2 separate regions of the Homo sapiens genome follow, and region 2 is linked to region 1. The links are contacts of gene promoters, found by promoter capture Hi-C in human tissues and cell types (Jung and others, 2019). All regions are on one chromosome and are shown on one strand. Each heading gives the region's core, a stretch centred on a gene start or on the middle of the fragment in contact. The rest is flanking DNA. Distances are from core to core; before and after follow the strand shown.

Evidence for each region. The method cuts DNA at HindIII sites, captures the fragments that hold promoters and counts their contacts. A contact is called where the count stands out against the background at its distance.
Region 2: a contact is called between a fragment that was not itself captured here and the fragment with the promoter of UACA in region 1, in 1 of the 25 tissues and cell types used here (H1 embryonic stem cells).

The regions. Positions count from the first base shown.
Region 1 is chr15:70,760,547-70,768,462 of GRCh38, forward strand. UACA (uveal autoantigen with coiled-coil domains and ankyrin repeats) reads right to left here and starts at 3,012. Exons shown (of 19, transcript NM_018003.4): 1 at 2,784-3,012. The coding sequence starts at 2,861. RefSeq lists a silencer at 2,777-3,186. The HindIII fragment of the contact is 5,114 bases long and covers 1-5,032 here.
Region 2 is chr15:70,084,598-70,092,513 of GRCh38, forward strand. All of the region lies in intron 4 of TLE3 (TLE family member 3, transcriptional corepressor), which reads right to left. Among named protein-coding and RNA genes, the nearest start is that of MIR629, 9.1 kb to the left of the region's middle. RefSeq lists an enhancer at 4,045-4,632. The HindIII fragment of the contact is 4,549 bases long and covers 2,579-7,127 here.

The DNA of each region.
Region 1 (7,916 bases), core at 1,762-4,261:
GCCTGTAATCCCAGCACTTTGGGAGGCCGAGGCGGGTGGATCACAAGGTCAAGAGATTGAGACCATCCTGGACAACATGGTGAAACCCTGTCTCTACTAAAAATACAAAAATTAGCCTGGCGTGGTGGTGCACGCCTGTAGTCCCAGCTACTCAGGAGGCTGAGGCAGGAGAATCACTTGAACCTGGGAGGCGGAGGTTGCAATGAGCCAAGATGGTCCCATTGCACTCCAGCCTGGCGACCGAGCGAGACTCCGTCTCAAAAAAAAAAAAAAAACAGAAAAAGAAAAATGGAAAGGATAAACTGTTCTTACCTATCAGGCTAGCAAAGGTCAAAAACTTTGAACAGACTTCTATTAAAAGCTTGGAAAACATTTCTCATATGCTGGTTCCATGATGCATGAAAGGAAACTTGACAACATCCTTCAAAATTACAAATGCACATATCCTTTAACCCAGCAATTCACTTTTAGGAATTAATCCTACAGGTACAGACACACACTTGAAATATGAATATTAATCACAGAATTGTACATTACAGCAAAAGATATGAATGGGGAGCCTCTATTTACAGTTTTAAAAAAAAAAGTCCAAGATATGAAACAGCAGCTACAGTGTGCTAGCATTTCTATAAAGGGTGACTATATTCATATTTGCTTGTATATGCTAAGCTCTCTCTGGAGGAACATGCAAGCAACTGTATCATCAGTGGCCTCAGGAAGTGGGGGCAGGGTGGCTGAAGCAGGGGTTAGGGAAACACGGTGTCGATATTTTGTTGTAAATATTTTTATTCCTTTCCAATATTAAACCATGTGCTATATTACCTATTCAAAAAATAACTGTTTTTAAAGGCAAAAAGAAAAAAAAAAAGGGTGGCCCAATCATACAATAAATACATATACATGTGACCAAATCTGGGATTATGGTTTATAGATTGAAAAGCAGAAAGGGTCTATTTCTCCTGTACATGTGTTTTATTCTATCAATGCTTGGTTTGGTTTTATTCATCACTACAGTTTTATTTTAAAATTTTACAGAATTCATTCTAAGTTTTATTCCTCATTACGCTTTTATTTTTAAATTGTACAGAACTTATTCTAATATTTAAACAGAAATGTTTGCTTTTTCTACATAAATAGGTTAATATCATGTTTATCTTTATTATGTCATTTTGAGAAAAATAGAACGCTCAATTGAGTGCTAAAGATTTAAGCTCAGAGATATGCACTTTATGTTCCAAATGTATAAAATGCAAACTATCATGCTGATAATACCTACTAAATACTCTGCATTTCTAGAAAACTGGATAAAATTAAGGCATATAAACCTCCAAGTGGGATTTACATCCTTAGTGCAAATCAAACACAACCAGGGAAAACAAAGCTAATAAATCTAGAAACTTGTATCTTCTATAAGGCTAAAAACACAACTTGCATTACAGAAGTAGAATCTTAACTGTAATGAACTCCAATATCACTAAATGACATTTCTGCCAGTTACTTTTTTTAAAAAAAAAAGTGAAACAAAGTAATCTCTGTTTTCCATGAGCTTATAAAACGACTTCATGCTTTATCAAAGAACATCAATTACGTCATCTGAATCTACTCTCTTTTTTTGAAATAGGAATTTAAGTCTAGGTAGTTCCTCCACAATTTCCTTTATGTCCAAGTAAAATAATCCTCGATATAGGTGGAGAGAAAGGCATAACTGAATTAACTCAAAAAAGCAGAAGCAGATTAATTAGTATTCTGATAAAAAGAATATAATCATTTGGTAAAATCTGCGTTGAATTGTAAAGGTTCATTTTAATTACCCCAACTAGGTAACTGTGCAGTTGGAGCATAACAACTCCTTTACGTTCGACTCTTCCAAGACTTTGTAAGTGGCACTTATTTTAATGATATAGAATTTTGATGATATCGCCATTCTTGTAACGTGACAAATTATCTAAATCACAACATCTGCGGTCAGGCTGTTTCTCAAGATTTCTGTTCTCCTGCCAACTAAAGAGGCCCCGACTACTCCTTGGCGCGCACACTGAGGCCGCGCTGCAGGTCAGCACCGAAAGAGCCCCGCACGGATCCCGCCCCACAGGTGCGATTTACACAACCCACATCACCACCACCCCTCCCAACTTCACCACCTCTAGGGTCACCACCCTGTGGGGTTTTGTCTTTACGACTAAGCCGATTCCCTCTGCCTCGCTGGGGAATCAAACTTCCCAGTGACAACGACAGCGGCCAGCACGGGACGTCCACCAGCCCGGCAGGGCTTGACGCTGTCTCAGACCCGGGGAAGGTCCGGAGTCCGGGCACGGTGGCGCGGGGTGCGCAGCCCTGCCCACCTGCCCTACCTGGTGCGAGCCCCGGCCCCGGGGACTGGGGAGCCAACACGGCCGAGCGGGCGTGGGCAGCAGGGCGAGCGCCGGGAGAGGAGAGCGACGAGGGGGGGTCAACGGAAAGAGCGGAGTAGGGGTGCCAATCGAGGAACTTTGGATTTAGGAGGAGGGGGCCAGAACCGCCCCACTGAGGTTTCTTCCAGAAGTTCGGAGGCTTGGGAGAAAGGGGTGGGGAAGAGACCCGTAGAGGCTCGGGTGCGGCGGCGGGGAGGATCCCCGGGGTCTCTGGGCTGACGGAGTCTCCGGCCTCAGGGAGGAGTCGCCAGGGCCGCCGAAGCCGAACTGGCAGAGGAAAAGCAGAGGAAGGCGGCGCGCGAACTCGCCAGCAAAGGAGGGCTGCGCTGCTCCCGGAGCGGAGCGCCTCGCAGCCCGGACCGCGGGACTCACCGCGCTGGCGGCGGCGGCGCCAGACGACGCGGGGCCGGGCACGTCCTGCCTCCTCAGGCGGGACTTGAGGCTCTTCATGGCTAACTCTTGCCTGGCCCCCGCGCGAACCTTAAAGGCTGCGGAGTGCCAGCGCGCAAGGAGTAGACGGCAGCGGCTGCAGCAGAGGCGGCGCGGGCTGTACCAGCCCCACCTGCCTGCCACCTGCGGGCCCCGGGCAGCAGACGTCGACAGGCCTGAGGCGGGGCTCCCCTCCCGTAGCCAATTGACCCGCTGCCCTGGCGGGGGCGTGGCAAACCGCGACCAATCGGAATGCGGGAATGGGGCGGGACTTCCCTTTTAAACTGAGTAACACCCTTCCTCTCCCAGCTGGAGGAAAAGTTTGGGAACTTTAGCCCGGGAAGGGGCGGAGGAGGTGGGCGGCCAGAGGCGTGGAGATGCGCGCAGGCCGGGCTCCAGGCCACCGGCGCCCGCCCACCCGGAGCTTAAGATCTAGAGAGAGCACGGGGTCCCGCCTTTGCCACCTCTCATCTTCCCGGACTCCCCTCCTCTTTCCACCCACGCGCTCTTTACCAAGTAAAGTTCCTTCCCTTCCGTCTGGTCTTAGAAATGACTCTTGGTTACCTGCACACAGAACAGCTTTCAGGAGCAACTTCTTTTCAGTCTCCTGTTTTACTACCAAATCCTGGTGCCTGGAAACCACCACACGCATCAAAAATTCCAGAAATAAACAGTCTCTAAGAAATAAGGTGCTGATTGTGCAGAAAAACGTACAGTTAAGAAAGACCTTGAAAGACGTTATAGTAAGTTACAGTACAAGTTACGTGCTCGTTTATTTGTTGAGTGAAGAATCCGCCGTATTGGAAGCAAAGGGACGGAATGGGGGCGGGGAGGGAGGAGAAGAGGTGCCATCAATTAAAAATGACTCCCACAGCCAGTGATTTAAGTTGTCAAAAAAAGTTACGCCCTTTTTTCTTCAAAAAGGTTTTTTGTTTTCTGTAGAAACACATTACATGTAAACGTATACGATGAAGTTAAATCATCTTACCTAGAAATCTGGGTTAGTAAAAATTATTTAAGAGGATGAAGAAACAGGAAGGTGCTCAGCACCCAATAATTTGCTGTTCGGGTGACATCTTCAAAAGTCTTCTTTGGAGTCATTTTTCCCCCCAGCAAAACGTTTATCGTAGCATGCATCCATTTGAAAAGACAAACGGTCCACATTTTCTGACTAACAAAGGACTCTTTTTTGTCTGAAAGGTCAGTTGCTCTCTTTAGAGTTTCTTTATAGTAACGCAAGGTTTTCTTCAAATACTGTAAGAAAGTTTTCAGAATTTCTTGGAGAGGCAGCATTCAAAGACTGTGTTAACCCTATACAACAAGTAAATAACAACTAACTACCCAAAAATATTATTAAATTTCATCTTGATTAGATCTTTGGAAGAAAATTTTCTTTGATTCCTCCCCCTTCCTCTAGATCTCCAGTCATTTAGTTCTTGTTGGCTCTTTAAAGTGTCTGTGTATGGTCAGTTACTCTGTTCTCACTGCCACTGCAGAGCCAAAATTACCTCATACCCGGACTATTATTACAGAAGCTTCCCAGCCAGTCTCCCAACCTTCAGTCTCTTAATTGTCCCATCACCAATAAATTATCAGCCATCATCAATAAGTCTTACAAAAATACTCCTCTTGCTCAAAAGCCTTCAGCAGCTAACGAATAAAATCTAATTCTTTGCATTTAAAGCTGTATAACGTGGACGCGACCCTGTTCTCTAGCCAACACCCCAAGCGAATTACTCTTCAGCCCATTCTCCAAACATGGGTCATGGCTTTCAACTTCCACATCTTTATGCATACTGATCCCTCCCCCAATAATCTTCTGTCTGTCTACATTCATCTCAGAAAATCCTACTCCCCCAAGAGTGATTGGTAGGGGATGTCGGGGGCTTCTGGAATACTGTACTATTCTCTGTGGGTGCTGGTTACATATCTAGTGTTTTCAGATTGTGAAAATTCAATGAGCCTGTACTGTATGCAATATATTCTCTTTTATGTGTGTGTTATGCTTTAACAAAAAGTTTGTTTTTAAGTGTATGTCCCTTCCAAGTGCCCTCCTCTCTATAGAACCTTCCCTGATCAAGTAACTGGAAGTGATCTCTCCATCCTCCAAATAGTTACAGCAATTATACCTCTCATATGATACTAACACATATGAGCTGAGCAAACCTTATTTCATTACTGGACTTCAATTTACTTAAAATTGGGGAATAACTGACATATATTTGAATTCCCTAGAATGCTTAGCATGTTATAGGTGTTTAATAAATATTTCTGAATGAATTGATGCATTCTTATTGACTACTATAGCAAATTATGGTTGTTTGTTCTATGTATTTATGTGACACAGGATTGGGATTCCCCCTATTGTGAACACAGATGGAATGATCTGAGGCTATGGTCCTGCTCAAATATTTGTGTCTCAATCAACTCCTTTCTCTGGGCTTAAGATAAGCACCCATTTACCATCTAGTCCTCTGACTGAATCTTAAATGTTAATTGCTTACAAGAGCACTGTCTCAGTAATTGGCTCTTGAGTTATTAATTGCAGTGTTATGTTGTACTGGTTGTCTCCTGTAACATCCAAGTTATCATAGTCCTGGTGACTGGCCTCCTTTTCTGTTGTTACTGGATAAAGCAAAGGAAACAGACAGAACCACAAGTATAGCTTGCATCAGGTTCCAAAAATGTTGGGCAAGTTATTTTTATGAACTGTCTGGATGATGTCCCCATGGTGTCTGTGTCCAGTGGCCTTTATGGATTTTTCCAGCCTAGAAACTTGATAGCTGATGTCTGCTTATTCCCATTTGAGAGCAGCTAAGTAAATAGCACTGGTCTGAATATTCAGTAAAGCTTTTTTACATTGATCTGGAAGCTGCCTATATGAAGTAAAGTCACTATTATTAGCATTCAACCAGACAGGTTGGGTTTTATTTTGTTAACTCTTATCACTATTATTTATTTTTATCTTCCCTTCAGAGCAAAGGGCACTTATCAAACCTAGATGACCTTTTGTTTGTTATCACACTGAGCCTATATAAAATATTTTTTTGTTTTACTTCTTTTTTTTTTCCAATATTTATTTATTTACAATATATACCAGGAAGGGTAATGCATTTTTTAAAATTACTTTACTAGATTATATATACACATGGTAATCTCAAATAATACAAATGGAGCAAGTTGATCTGCTTACCACCCCTATTTTGATCCCTGCTGTCAAGGAACTTGTGTTCTGGATTAGATAACAAATGTGTAAGCTGTATGCTAACACATACAGTTTAACTGGACAATCGCTTACTGAATCGTGTAGTAAGATTGCAGATGGTATTTAGGGAAGGAAAAGATCAACAGATAAGTTTGCCTGAAGGGAGGCTATCCAAGGTTGAGTATCCATTCAATGAATACCAACAGGTGAGAAGTAATACCAGATGGGCAGAGGATACCCAGGGGACCTGCCAGAACAGGGAAGAGAACACAGTCGACAGATGCTCACTGATAACTCAGATGATGATAACGGCAAAAACGATGACAAATATGATTTCTCAGAAGAAGAATAAAGAATCCACACAGAGGGCCGGGCACAGTGGCTCACACCTGTAATCCCAGCACTTTGGAAGGCCGAGGCGGGTGGATCACGGGGTCAGGAGATCGAGACAATCCTGGCTAATATGGTGAAACCCCGTCTCCACTAAAAATACAAAAAATTAGCCAGGCGTGGTGGCAGGCACCTGTAGTCCCAGCTACTCTGGAGGCTGAGGCAGGAGAATGGCGTGAACCTGGGAGGTGGAGCTTGCAGTGAGCCGAGATGGCGCCACTGCACTCCGGCCTGAGCGACAGAGCAAGACTCCATCTCAAAAAAAAAAAAAAAAACAAAAAACAAAAACAAAAACAACAACAATAAAAAAAAGAATCCACACACAGGCCGGGCATGGTGGCTCACAACTGTAATTCCAGGACTTTGGGAGGCCAAAGTGGACAGATCACTTGAGGTCAGGAGTTTGAGACCAGCCTGGTGAACATGGTGAAACCCCATCTCTACTAAAATACAAAAATTAGCTGGGCGTGGTGGTGGAAGCCTGTAATCCCAGCTACTGGGGAGGCTGAGGCAGGAGAATCGCTTGAACCCAGGAGGCAGAGGTTGCAGCGAGCCAGAATAACGCCACTGCACTCCAGCCTGGGTGATAGAGCAAGACTTCATCTCAAAAAAAAAAAAAGAATTGACATACAAAGTCTAAAATTTGCACATAAAATGAGTCCTTTTCAAACATAAAGATCTCCTTCCAGACAAGCTTTAGTTATGAATTCTATATCCAATGACTTCCCTCTTCATTTTCAGAACTTCTTGCTGCTCCGAGTAGCCCTGGGGACCCAGTGAACAAAGCCAGTGAATAATTTCATGAAGGGGCCCATGACATCAGTCATTCTCTCAGATGCCAAAGCAAATGGCTGGCAGAACCACGTGTGGCCACAGAGTCATGAGGAAAGGCACTTCTACCCAGAAATCATAGGCAGCCCAGGAAATGAGAGACCTGAGGCAGTTCTCACACCCTCTTCTCTTGCCACATTGAAAACTAAAACATTGCATAAAAGAGCTTTAAAAAAATAAATAGGTCATCTTCGGCACTAACTTTAAAAGAATCTGTATTTTTAGTAAGCTCACCAAAGGCTGCATCTTAGAAAACTAGAATGAGAAGAAGAAAAAGGGAAAGAAGATGGTGTCTGCTCCGCATAACCATAGACCCTCATGTAAGTTTTCTTAGTTACTCAGCACTAAAATTTCAAGTGGTATCAATTCCTTCTTACAGAAACCACTTCTTTCATCTCCCCTGTTGAGGATTGTTATGCGTTTAGCTATAGCAATCTTGAGTTTACCACTTATCTTCCAAAGAAGGCTGCTTTCTACCTCTCTCTGTCTTCCTTGGCATTTACAGACTGTCATTCACTTATGACATATCGAGTGTGCCATTAGTTTCGATACTGAAAGAAAAAGTGAAAAAACAGGAAGGATCATGGTCAGGAACAAAACTAGACTTCCCCAGCATAATTGACCTTATACCTAAAAGCAGTTGAGATAAC
Region 2 (7,916 bases), core at 3,603-6,102, 670 kb before region 1:
TCACTGAGGTCCACGAGGGAAGCAGGCCTGGTTTCCAGTTCTGAATTGGCCACTGGTCTGCTGTGCAACAATGAGCAAGTTACTCAACCTCTTTAACCGTCAGTGCTGCTATCTGATGCGTGGCGCCCACGGTGCCTACACTGCAGGACCGTAGAGCCAACAAGTCACATATGGGAAAGGGCTCTGAGAAATCTTACAACATATGCAACACCAAGGATCTTGTCCTCTATGTCTGAGGCCTTGACAATTTGGGGACTCTGTCCCCTTGTGAGAATACCTTGCTTCGGCCTTTCCATGTGCAAGGTTTTGTGCTAAGCAGGCTATATGCATCCTTCATGGCACTCCCTATAACTGTAACTGTACAATTTATGAAGCCACCAGCCACCCGTGGCTAGCTAAATTTAATTAAAATTAAATTTCAAACTCAGTTCCTCAGTCGCAGTAGCCATATTTCAAGTGCTTAAGAGCCACACGTGGCTGGTGGCTGCCTTACTGAAGAGTGCAGACATACAGCATTTCCATCACTGAAGAAAGTTCTACTGGACAGCACTGCCGCAACAGGCAGGTGTTATTATTATCTCCACTGCAAACTGAAGATCACAGAGGTCAAACAGTCTGCTCAAAGTCACACACCAACATGAACTGATCTGGGACTCAAACCCACATTTGTCTGACTCCAAAGCCAACCTCTTAGCCATGAAGACAAATCTCCCAGCTTCTGGTGCTCTATACCTAACTCTCCAGGATCACCCGGCAAGAACTTGTGATCTTCTGAGGGAGAAAGGGAATCCACTGGCCAAGAAAAACTGGCTTGCTGGGAACCCACCCCATCCATCATCCAGTAGGCCCAATGGGCATTCAACATCCTGGGAGTTTAAAAAGGGAGTTTGCCCAATATCCCTGGGCAAATGGATAGTGAGGAAGAGCTGGGTAGGGGTCTCTTGAGAAGTAAGGTAAAAAACCAGGTAAAAGAATAGTGAGAAAACCCAAAAGGCTAAGAGAAAGGGGTATCTAGACACTTCTCAAGTTCCTGCAGACCAGGCCTGTGGGTGCCTGCCACACACAAGGACTGGGTGACATGGAGACCGACACCAGGCCAACAGCAGCAGGACCCTGCAGGAGAGGGGCATGTCTTTCGAGCTCTAAACCAGGCTGCTTCTCCCCCATTTCAAGTCTGGCTTCATGGAGATCCCCCATTTCTCTGGGATAAAGTATGAAAACCCAGCGATTGAGGGATGGGAGACAGGGATTGTACCATCAATCTCAATTCTTCCTGTCTTTCCCCAGGACTTCTGTTGTTAGGCAAAGCAAAATAAGAACTGGACTTCAGCTTTCTTCACTGGAGAGAGAGATCAGAGGAAGGGGCCTCCTTCTAGGAAAAGAAGCAGGTAAGGGTTTAAGGATGAGCTGAAGACCTATTGACCAATCAGTGCCAACAGGCTCACTTCCTCTGTCTCCCCTGCTCCTCCTTCCTCTATCCCACCCGACCAGTTAGACCCTCACTCCAGACCATCTGGCATCACCTGCTGCTTCTGAGCCCTCTGAGTGTCCTACTTCTTCCTGGACAGAGGCCAGGAAGGTTAATAGAAGTTCTTGTACCTCACCCCCACCAGAGAGCTAGAATGGACTCCCATCCCTTGTCCACTAGTCTGCACTGAACTGCCTTCCTCTTCTCATTTTCCCCAGCAGAAATCACAAAGCATCACCGGTTCCAAAGCATGCCCCTGCCAGTATTATCAGAATTAATCAGTTTCAGATCCAAACTCAGCAAAGACCTGTCGAGGGCTAGCCCAAGGGAAAGATTTGGGAAGTGGGTGAAAGGCCGCCTCCTCCAACCTTTTGGTCATATAGCTGGCAGGGTGGTGGAGTCTAAACCTCAAGTCTTCATGGCTGACCAGGAAGGGAGAGCCCTCTCCTGTACCCAAATTGCATTTGGTATTCAGTGCTAAAACACTAGTGGGAAGAGCTCTTCTGCATTTGGGTCTCCACTTGAGGAAAGGGTCAGCCTTCCAGCGCAAACGAAAAAGAAACTTCTATCGGCCTGCGGTAGTTTTCATTCAAAATTAACAAACAAAAAAAGCAGTAGAAGAACTGTGAACAATAGTCAAACTTAAAAGGCTCATGAGATAAGGCCACAACACTTGGAACTCCATGCCCAAACAGCCAAGGCATGGCAAGCCGAGTTTACCAATTCACCCACTCAGCACTTGTCTCTTCCGCATCTCTGCTTTGTCATCTCTTCCTCCCAGTTATCTCTTCGCACCCCCACCCTGCCTTCTTCCCCTTTTGCACTTAAACTGTCCATAGTGTTAGATGAAAAGAAAAAGATGCCTAAGATACATTAAAGACACTTTTAAATAAAGGCTCATGACACCTTTACAACTCTTTCTACAAACACAACGTTTGCAGCCTACAGGCCTCTGTCAGAAAACTAAGAAAGCTTCTATCCTTCCCAAAGAGTCCATAACACTATTCAGGGTCAGAGAGAACCCTGAGCTGGAATATTACCTTCCTTCCTTGAGTCCCCACAAAATGCACACTGTGTATCCAGTATGGGCCAGGCACTGCTCAGGGTTCAGGACCCTTAGTGAAAACAAATACAAAATGGTCCTGTCCCTCACGGAACTCACAGTCCTGTCACAGCACAGGCCTCACCTCCCCAACCCCAATTTGAGAACACAGCCCTCTAGTACACAGGTCATCTTCACACCCCAAGCTTTCAGGGTATGCTCTGATGCTTTTATCCTGGTGTCTGTCTGTCCTGGACCCAAATACCCATTATTTTAGCTGCTAAGATGAAAATGTCGAATCTGCTTTGCAATCAAGTGCTACAGAAATTCTAAGAGGCCGTAGCATTATAATCTATAATATCTGGAAGATCAAATTTTTCAAACAGTTTGTCCTCTGGAAAGTACTTCCCCTGGGATTATTTGGTGGTGGCAGCAGCCAGAACACTGGATCCTATCCTTCACACAGTGGGTGATGGAAGGAACCACCTAAGACACACGAGCCAAGCCCATCCATGCTCCTACCCTTTACCAAGAGCAGCCAGCCTGGGAGAGAACAGGACAACATAGACTTCAGGCCCCAACAGGGTTTCCCTGGCCTCTCAGGCCCCACAGATGGGAAGTTGCTTCTCTCTTCTCCCTTCACAGGACACATTGGCAATGGGAGGCTTTGGTGACAGAGAGGCAAAGGAAACCTCTTCCAAAGGACTGCATTTTCAAAGCAATAATGAAGTCGGCTGGTGTGAAGGGGAGAAAAGTATTTGTTCTCAGATAAAATCTGCCGGGTGGACTAGCCGGGCCCCCTGGTTAACCCTCCAAGCCTGGTGTGAACCTGTACTTAAGAATACAAGTCCTTGCCCCACCCACCCTGTTGATTTCCAGACGGGCCTCTTGGGCCATCAACTCTGCAGCAAACAGCCTCCTAGAATCTGATTCCTTAGCGGTCATGGCCTGACTCTCCAACACGGTGACCCCTCTCCTCCAGCCCTCCCCCAAAAGGTGGCCTCTGCCTAAACATTCACAGTGACAGCTCTGCAGCCCACTGATTGTGCAACATCCTTAGCAAAGAAAAGAATTCAAAATCAATGCTGATGCGAATTCAGACTCTCCCATTACCTCCTTGAGAAACGCAAGGTCCTAAGGACCCTCAGTAGGGCAAGGCTGACCCACAGCTTGCTGCCTGCAAAGGACGATGCTTCAAAACAACAAACCCACCAAATATTCCCCGCTTACATGGCGGCAGGACGTTTCCCCCTTCCTTAAGTTTCTCCTTAACCCCAACTTGAAGGGAACAATTATTTTATAAAGAATTTTTTTTAAATATGTATTTTGAAGGAGAAGAGAAAGCCAAAAGAAGAAAGGAAAAGGAAAAAGGAAGAAAGCATCTTGGCTGTGAGTCTCAGAGAGCATTTGTTGAAAACAAGATATTGTCCCTTTAAGCATATAAAAACAAGGCCCTTGAGCACGCAGTTCTCACTCTGGTACACAATTATGGGTGCTTTCAGCTGTCTAGCACTACTTCAAGTGCTCTCTTAAACCAGACTGTCAATGGCATGTTGAAAGCTATTTTGCTGGCTGCTATCATTAATAGCAAAGTGGAGAGCTGGGCTGATGAGAATTAAATATGGGGGAGGGGGCGGGTCATAACCAGTCATTACAGAATTACCAATATGAGAAAGGAGACAATGCCACTTTGGGGAATAAAGTTCAAAGCAGCATATTACGGTAGGAAAGCAGGCAGAGCAGGCCACAAACGGCCCAGAGCGGGCCCCCGCCCCCGCCCCCACCCCCACCCCGCGGCAGATGGACTCAGGCCAGCCCTGGAGAGCCAGCCATGCAGGGATGCAGGGAGCCACCGGGTGGGGAGCCGCGACTGCAAGGGCAGAGGGGCCTTGGAGATCGCTCTGCTGCAAAATGTCACCACCTCGCCTCACTTCCCAAGTGCAGTCCCCGCCCCACATCATTCCGAAGACGTGTGGCTTCTAGAACATATCTCACTGCCTTGCCGCGAGCTGTTGCCACCCTGGAGGGGCCTCGGCTGCCGACTTCTGCCTCATAAACCCTACCCTCCCTTTCAGACTCGCGCCAAGCAAAGCCCTCAGTGAAGTCTGCTCTCACCCAAGAAGAATAAGCTGTTCTGTGCTGGGTGCTCCTCCTATGACACTTGGGCCACATTAGCACTTACCTCACTGCATTGCAATTACTTCTTTAGACATCCGACTCCCCCGCAGAGGGAATGGTGTCTTATTCGGCTGTGTAACCAACCCCAGCCCACACCCAGCACATCCCAGTCCCCTAATAACTGCTTTGGGAATGAATCCAACCCCCTCATTTCACTGATGAAGAAACTGGATGCTGGGCCATAGGAGGAAGCCTGCAGAGCGGGCGGCCAGCCCACAACTAAAATCCCCACTTCCTACTCACAGGGCTCAGGGAATCGGAACTCTACTCTCAGATAACCTGAGTAAATTTTGAAGAAAAACCAAGATGTTTACTGAGCACCTATTACATACTAAGTGCTATAGAGACCTCAGCAGAGGGGCTTCCTTCATACCTACAAAAATGAGACGAGGAATGAGTGCCAGATCACAGGGGAAAACACTGCCAAGCTTAGGTCTTTGTCACGTTTTTGCCCCTGGTGTCCCAGTATTTTGTACAAACAATGAGACAGAATGACATTCTCCCACGTAGAAAGCAAAAGGAGATTTATTCCTTGACTGACTCACTCCTTCAACAAAATGGAAACAAACAGCCTAGGTGGGAAGGAGGAGTTCAAGGAAAGGAAGAACTCCGTGTCTGCCACGGGCTCCTGGTCCAAGAGAGTTCAGAGAATGAGTCCCGAATTAGGAGCCAGGTTCCCACCCGTTGATCTGTAAAGTAAGGACAAGGGGCCATTTGCTCATCTCCCAGGGTCATTTCAATGACAAATGCACAAGAAGGAAAAGACCCCAAAAGCACTGAAACCCCCACTCTACCACTCCCACTGGCAACTAGAGAAAAGGGGTCCAAAGGCAGTCTTGAGGGGTGGGGCAACCTCCCTCTAGCTAGACAGCATGCAGGGAGCTTGGAGCCCAGCAGACCCCAAAGCTGAGCGAGGCAGGCACCCACTCAGTGAGAGGACTCGTGATTACAGTCTGTTCCAGGGAAGATCAATATAGCAGGAAAAGTCAAGACAGATACCAGGGCATGGGGCCGGGTGGGAGGGTTCTTGGATGCTAGCACTCTGGCAAAAAAGAAAAAAAAAATTTCACAGCTCAACTCAGATGCCACACAAATAGGCACTTCCCTAGTCTAAGGACCTTTGACCCCTTCTACTTTGCAAGTGGTCCCACATTCTCCTATCAAGATAGGCTCAACTCCTTGGCAGAGTCCTTTGTAACCTCATTGCCTGGTAGCTCCCTCTGGCCACCTGTACCTTGCACCTTCACCGTGGTCACAAAACTTCTGTGTGCCTCAAGATCTTCCAGGTGAGCCCCTTATCATTTAGATGAGAAGATCCAGAGCGGGGAGGGGAGGGGAGTGACAAATGGGGATTTTCCATTTCCTACCTCAGCCCTGTGTTTATGGCACCCCATGGCTAGGGTAAAAAGTTCACAGGTTATATATACCACCTTTCCCGGTCTGTGAATCTTTCCTCTGGGATTGCTAGTTATGCATTATGTATTATTATTACACACATCAAATCATTAGTTGTGCAAATAGCTGGCAATTCAAAACAGGACTGTGGACAATAAGGGTTCAGTGATATGATTATACAACCCGAAATGGGGCACTTTGGACTTTGGTGGGGCCAGTTTTGTAGCCTTAGCCTGTTTGGATAATAACACAGAAAGAAGCAATAGTAATTAAAGACACAGAATACACTAGAAAAGGAGCACTCTTCATTTCTTGAGTCTTACAGAAAAGAGTCCTGGGTTGGAAGGGAAGCAGCAGTAGCAGCTTTACCACTAACGTGGGACTGTATGACTGAGTACATAAGCTTCCCTTCTCTGGGCCACCGTTTCCTCATCTGTAACTTGAAAAGTTTGCATGAGAAGCCAAAGGGCTCTTCCAGTTCCAAGATTCAAAGAGAAACTTACAGGAAAGGTTGTTCAGTTCACAGAAAAAGGTGACTGTATTGTGTCGGCACGACACTGCCCCAAAATCAAAATGGCTCAAGTCCACTTTCAAAAATGTCAGTGCTCACCAACAGTGGGTGAAAAGGCTGCCTGACCCAGCTTCTCAGAGAGCCAGTGCCTCAAATCCAATGCATGGCAATTGCTCTGGGGCCCCTGGTTTTAAGCTGGCTTTGTTATTTGTGGCTGACACTGGAAAGCCTCTGCACAAACAAGATGGCAAGTGATGAGCCGGTCAGTCATCACTGCCTTCCCAGACTCTCTGAACCACCCTTGACATTCTGCCTGGAAGCAGGGGGCTTGGTGGAGGTGGGTGACCTCTTGAAGTCCCGGGCCAGGCCTGTGATTCTGTAATCTTTGCTTTACCATAATTAGGGAGGGAGGCAGAAGAGCAGGAGGAGAAACCATTTATTACTTCTCTGGGATTTTGACAGCTTGGAAAAAGAGAGAGACAGAGAAACAGCCAGAGAAGGAGCCAGCCACAGTGAGTTTAACCTCTCAGTAAAATAAAAATGGGCTGGACGCACCTCATCAGCTGCCCTCTGTCAATACCCGGGCCCATCTGGCAGGACTCGAGGTTCCCAGCTAATTGGCATTTCCCATAGAGCCAGCAAAGGAGAGCTTTTAAAAAAAATATGTGGTGGTGATGGTGGAGTGCGTGTGCGTGTATGCGCGCAGGCTGAGGACTGCCACACTTCCCAAGGTGCTAGCTCTATAGATCATCTATTATATAAAAGTACAGACAGTCCCCACCCCCACCCCAGCTTAAAGATGAAGAATCCAGCCTGTTTGTTCCAGGCAGATGTAATCACACGAACAGTCAAGTCTAGAGGGCAGGACACTGCATGAATAATTCAAGCACTCCAGTCACTTGATTGTGTGTGCCGATAAAACACCAGTCAACCGCTAAACAGGTCAGCTGATAAACTTGTTTGCTCAGGCCTAACCACCATTCGCCAAATGCACCCAAGACCCACACTACAATTAGTGGCAGGGCTTTCTTCTACAGAACCCTTGCAAACCTAGGGAGTGGCCAGCTCCATTAGATCAGGGTTGCATTTCACGGCACAGGTTTCTTCACCTCCTTGCCTCTTTGTTCCTCCACAGCCACAGGGTGATTTCACCCAACTCAGAGACTGCCATAAGCTTGCAAAGCCACTGCATTCAGAGCACACATGTTCAGGCTGGGAACTCAGGCTAGAGGGCAAAGGTGAGTGGCAAGCAAGGTAAAGTGCCCAGTGGGGAAGCCAGAGGGCTGGATTTGAATCCCAGCTCTGCCCTCCTGGCCTCCCTG